2 separate regions of the Homo sapiens genome follow, and region 1 is linked to region 2. The links are contacts of gene promoters, found by promoter capture Hi-C in blood cells and fetal thymus (Javierre and others, 2016). All regions are on one chromosome and are shown on one strand. The core of a region is centred on a gene start or on the middle of the fragment in contact, and the rest is flanking DNA. Distances in the headings are between cores, read along the strand shown.

Evidence for each region. Contacts are between HindIII fragments. The CHiCAGO score rates a contact against its expected background, and 5 or more counts as called.
Region 1: a fragment that was not itself captured here is called in contact with the fragment with the promoter of TACO1 in region 2 in 1 of 17 cell types (M1 macrophages); the score reaches 5.2 in M1 macrophages.

What each region holds. Positions count from the first base shown.
Region 1 is chr17:63,070,617-63,073,390 of GRCh38, forward strand. The region is part of intron 2 of TANC2 (tetratricopeptide repeat, ankyrin repeat and coiled-coil containing 2); the gene reads left to right. Among named protein-coding and RNA genes, the nearest start is that of TANC2, 110 kb to the left of the region's middle. The HindIII fragment of the contact is 1,695 bases long and covers 560-2,254 here.
Region 2 is chr17:63,599,508-63,602,245 of GRCh38, forward strand. It overlaps TACO1 (translational activator of cytochrome c oxidase I), which reads left to right and starts at 1,388. Exons shown (of 5, transcript NM_016360.4): 1 at 1,388-1,856. The coding sequence starts at 1,577. The HindIII fragment of the contact is 11,259 bases long and covers 732-2,738 here.

The sequences.
Region 1 (2,774 bases), core at 157-2,656, 530 kb before region 2:
CTAGTTTTTGTAGGGCCCATAATCTAAGAATGGTTTTTATATTTGTAAATGGTTAAAAAAAATTAAAAGGATAATAATATTTTGTGACATATAAATTATATGAAATGAAAATTTTAGTGTCCATAAAGAAAATTTTATTAGAGTAGAACCACATGTGTTTGTTCATCCAGTATCGAAAACCACCACCCTAGTCTCTACACTACTATAAGGGGTATCTTTTTAAAATGCAAATTATTCTAGGTAAATGTGTTTAAAGATTTTTTTAAAAAACATTAAGCAGGTCAGGGTTCTTAGTTGTTTCTCACAATGTAATTTCTATGACAGCACATGCAGGTTAACATTGTGCCTCACTATAGGTGAGTTAAAAATGTTTCCATCTCAAGTGGTTGATTTGATAAGAGTAATTCATATATCAGTGTCATGAGCATTGACCTTTTCACTAAAAAGAAAATGTATCGTATTTTCACACTGTAAGCATTTAGAAAGAACTACTTTTACTTACTTCTTTTCTTGTTAGAGCAGCTTTTTTCTTGAATTCCTTGTAAAGCATGTATACCTAAGCTTGCTGTGATAGATTTCATAGATGTGGGGAATAGATGCATGATAGGGACTTTAGTTACCTAAGCATGGGTATACAGAATGTCAGGTGCCAAATTTTCTTAATAGAGTGTAGAATTTTTTTTTTTAAAGAGTCAAGGTCTCCCCTTGTCACCTAATTGGAGTGTGGTGGTGTGATCATAGCATAGCTCATTGTAACCTCAAATTCCTGGCCTCAAGCGATCCTCCCACCTTGGGCTCCCAAAGTGCTGGGATTACAGGTGTGAATCATTTTGCTCAGCCCTAGAATTTCTTAAATAGTGGTCTTCATTAGAAAGGAGCAGTAATATAGACCTGGAGAGGGAGGGTTATAGGGTTGGCAGTGTACCAGAATTCCTACTGAGGTACTTTATTTTGGTTGTGGCCAGTTGATTGTCAAGAGAAGCTCTCTTTTAGTAGAATGAATAGACAGAGACACCAAACATGGCTTTTGGGAAAAACATTTTTTTTTCTTTAGAGAATATATCTTTTGATTTTATATTGGAAGCACATAGGAAGGTTATATTGTAAGACTAAGTCTTCATAACCTGCTTTGTTAGAATGCCTCTATTCTGTAAAGGAATAATTGCTATAGTTACTGATTAGTGCTTTTTTAACATCGTTTTTATGAGAAAAGAATAAAACGGGAACATGAATTGAACTCAAAATATTTAATAAATTTGGGTAGAAATTAGTATCAGAGAGATGTATTGAGTCAAACATCCTTGGGTTAAAATCCAGTTTCATTTTTACTGGTTTTGTCATTGGATTTCAGTTAGTCACCATGAGTTTCAGTGTTCTCAGCTGTGAAATAGGTCTTTACTTCATAGGGCTTTGATGAACTATGTAAAATACCTGGCAGAGAGTACATAGTAATTATTGGCTGCCTTTCTGTTCTTAAATACATTTTAGAAAGAAGAGAAAACTTTAGGATTTTTGGACATATTGAATATTAATTCACAAGAGAGTGAGGTAGAAGGAATCCTAGAGGGTTTAAAACTTAGAAATTAAATTTGAGTTGGCCCAGTTGAAATACTGAGCCTTATTAAAAAGAATCCATATTTATAGAGTTGTTTACTTAGAATTTGATATACAGTTAAGAAGGATTGTAAATGTTCACATTTCCTTTAAAAGGACAAAATTAAAGAATTTAAGTTTTAATTTCAACAGAGGCAGATCAGCCATTCAGAGATGATAATCCATGAGTAGATTTTTGCTTTAATTTTTAAAAATAATGTCAAAGAAAAATTTCTTATATTTGTCTTTCAGATAACACCTTATTTTGTCAACATGTCTATTTTTATTCAAATGTGGTAACTTATATAGTAACAGCAGAACTAAAATAAACTGATTTATATTTAAAAAGTATTTTCATACTGGAGGAAAAAATATGGTTGCCTATCACTTTGAGTATCTTTCTATGTGATAAGTTATTTTACAAATCTGACTAAATTAGTGGAGTGTTTTACTAGATTACTGTGGACTAAGAGATATGAATATTTCCTGGCAATGTACTTATTATTTTGTATTGTCGTCGTATATTTGGAATCGATTGATTAAATGTTACTGTACTTGCTAGTTTAACAGCCCTCTACAAAATAGAGAATAGTTGATATATATACATGAATTGGATTTAATTATTGCTAGGCCTTACATATAATAAATATACTTAAAAGGAAGCTTTATATCAATAATGAATTAAAAAACAGGCCATTCTGTTTAAAAAGCAATAGATGTTACTACACGAGCTCTATTAAAAACAATAAACCATAGAATAAGTAGATGACAGAGCAAGAATACTCTTTATTAAACCTGCTTGCAGCTACTACCCCTTTTCCCTGTCAAGTTAAAAATAAGACAAGTGATTGTATGAAAGAACGAACAAAGGAAATTGTTTGATGCCTTAATGCATTTTTCATCTGATTAAAGTGATAACAAATTTATAGGTGTATAGACCACTATGTTAAAGATTTTGCTTGGTTTAGTTTCATATTTTATATTATACTTTACATTCTTAATATATTAATTTCTGTTTTACTGTGCCTATTTTAATGAATTTATGATGCATAATTTTTCTGTTTCTATATAACAAAATTGAGGCAATTATTTACAATAAAGTAAAATTTGTTTTAGCTTTTCTTAACATGCATGAGGGAATATACTGTTTTGGTTATTTCTTAAAAGAAGATGTATACAAT
Region 2 (2,738 bases), core at 138-2,637:
TTAGTAGAGACGGGGTTTCACCATGTTGACCAGGCTGGTCTTGAACTCCTGACCTCAAGTGATCTGCCAGCCTCGGCCTCCCAAAGTGCTAGGATTACAGGCGTGAGCCACCGCACCCAGCCCCATGGAGGTTCTTATATAATAAAAAATAAAAAATCTATGCTTTTGTGCTTTGCATCCATTATCCCATTTAGTCCTCACAAGGCCATTCTATGGTAAGGAAACTGAAACAGGAAAGTAAAGGAACTTGCCCAAGGATACACTAGAAAATGGAACAACCAGGGTTTGAAGCCACCCAGTCTAACTGCAGAGGGCACAAACTTGGACTTCACACTGTCCTGCTTCTCTCTCTCTCTCTCTCTCTTTTTTTTTTTTTTTTTTGAGTTGGATTCTCGCTCTGTCGCACAGGCTGGAGTGCAGTGGCGCGATCTCGGCTCACTGCAACCTCCTCTTCCCGGGTTCAAGCGATTCTCCTGCCTCATCCTTCTGAGTAGCTGGCATTACAGGCGCGCGCCACCACGGCCGGCTAATTTTTTTGTATTTTTAGTAGAGACGGGGTTTCACCATGTTGGTCAGACTGGTCTGGCACTCCTGACCTAGCGATCCGTCTGCCTCAGCCTCCCAAAGTGCTGGGATTACAGGCGTGAGCCACCGCGCCCGGCTGTCCTGCTTCTCTACCTGATATGTCATGCCCTTTGGACTTAATCTCACCAGCATGGGAGTCACTACAAAGCTTTTCAGCAGCTGCCGCTTTGTTTCTCTCCATCTTCTAACGGATTCGGTTTTCTCTTTCGAGACAGCAGAGAGAAAATGAAGAGGGGAGTTTAGCTCCAAAGGGCTTGTCTGATCATTCTCCCTCTCCCAAAGGCCTGTGACTCATCTGAGTCTGTCCCAAACCATCTCTTGCATCTAGGGGCTTAAGTGCACTGTGGCTATTTACATAAAACTTTATTACTTTAAAGCTCTAAGGGCTCATTTTGTGTTTCTAACTTTCCTATGTTGATAAAGCAAATATTAGATCCTTATTTATAAATAGGGAAGACGTTCAGAGAGATTAAACATTTGGGCAATTCACTTCTCTGGCAGCAGTTTCTTTCCCAGTACAATGAGGCAACAACAAAATATCATTCTGGACTTGCTCAGATTTAGGCAGCAATTTGGAAGCAAAGTCAGTTTCATAACTCAGATGTGTCTCCACTAAAACATTATGAGAAACAAAGTCCGGCGCTCTCTAGGCAACCGTGAGGGCTTGAGCACTAACTAGATCTGCTCAAGGGCAAGAGAGGAGCGAGTACCGTGCAGCCACGGAACGGACTTTGCGGGCAGTGGGGACGTGTTTTTGGAGCGAACCCGGTAAAGGAAGTGTGCTACGCCATCAAGGGCCCCCAGTCCCGGGTGCCGCGGGGACAGTGTAGGGTCATTAGCTGTTGAGCCGCCCCGGGCGGGCCCAAGCCTTTGGATCTCAGGTGACCGGCACAGGCGGCCGCGGGGTCCGGAACTGCTTGTTCCGGCAGTGGAAGAGACGCGCCGGCGTTGGCCGCTGCTGCTAGCAGCTTGAACCCCAGGGTCGGGACCGATGTCGGCTTGGGCTGCTGCCAGCCTAAGCAGGGCCGCTGCCCGATGCTTGCTGGCACGAGGCCCCGGGGTCAGGGCGGCTCCTCCGCGCGACCCCCGGCCCTCCCACCCCGAGCCCCGGGGCTGCGGTGCCGCTCCGGGCAGGACGCTGCACTTTACCGCGGCTGTCCCCGCCGGGCACAACAAGTGGTCCAAAGTCAGGCACATCAAGGGTCCGAAGGACGTCGAAAGGAGTCGCATCTTCTCCAAACTCTGTTTGAACATCCGCCTGGCAGTGAAAGGTGAGACCCTGACGGTCACCCAGCACTGGCTGCCGCTGCCCTCTCAGTGCCCGCAGCCTCGCTTGCCTCTCGGAATTGGGCCCACCTAGATCTCCGGCCCTTCACTTTGTTTTCCTTCCCCAGTACCCACCATTGCCCACCTCATAAATCCTCAAAACACCTACCCTACGTTGGAGGTTCTCACTCACTTTTCCAGACGCTGAGCATCTGGCCAGTTTGTCAGAGAGGGAGCTGCTCTTAAGAAGATAAGCCGGTAAGGTAGAAGTGACTTCATCCTAATCTAGCTGGGTACTTAATAGAAACAAGCCCTAAGAGTCAGGGCAGATGTGTGTCTCTCCTGAAGAGACAAATCAACCCCTCTGAAGTCGCCTCAAGTACCTTATTGGTTGTGGCAGGGGCACTGAGTAAAGCTATTACTTAAGTGCTTAGGCCTTAGCTTAGGCCTTAGTTTGCTTCATTAATGTTTCCCCAAGACACATTTCCTTGGAAGGTAGATTTGCAGCCATGTCTTTTCTCCCTTAGGTCGCCACACTGAAAAGGCTTTTTTTCTGTTTAGGGCCAGACATCTGTAGGAGCAAAGGAAAAGTCCTGTAGAAAGCATGGACTTTGGACTGGGCGCAGTGGCACAGCCTGTAATCCCAGGCCAGAGGCAGGCAGATCACTTGAGGTCAGGAGTTCAGGACTAGCCTGGCCAACATGGGGAAACCCTGTGTCTACTAAAAATAACAAAAAAAAAAAAAAAAAAAAACAGCTGGGCATGGTGGTGCATGCCTGTAATGCTGGCTACTCGGGAGGCTGAAGCAGGAGAATTGCTTGAACCCAGGAGTTGAAGGCTGCAGTAAGCGAGATTGCTCTACTGTACTCCATCCAGCCTGGGTGACA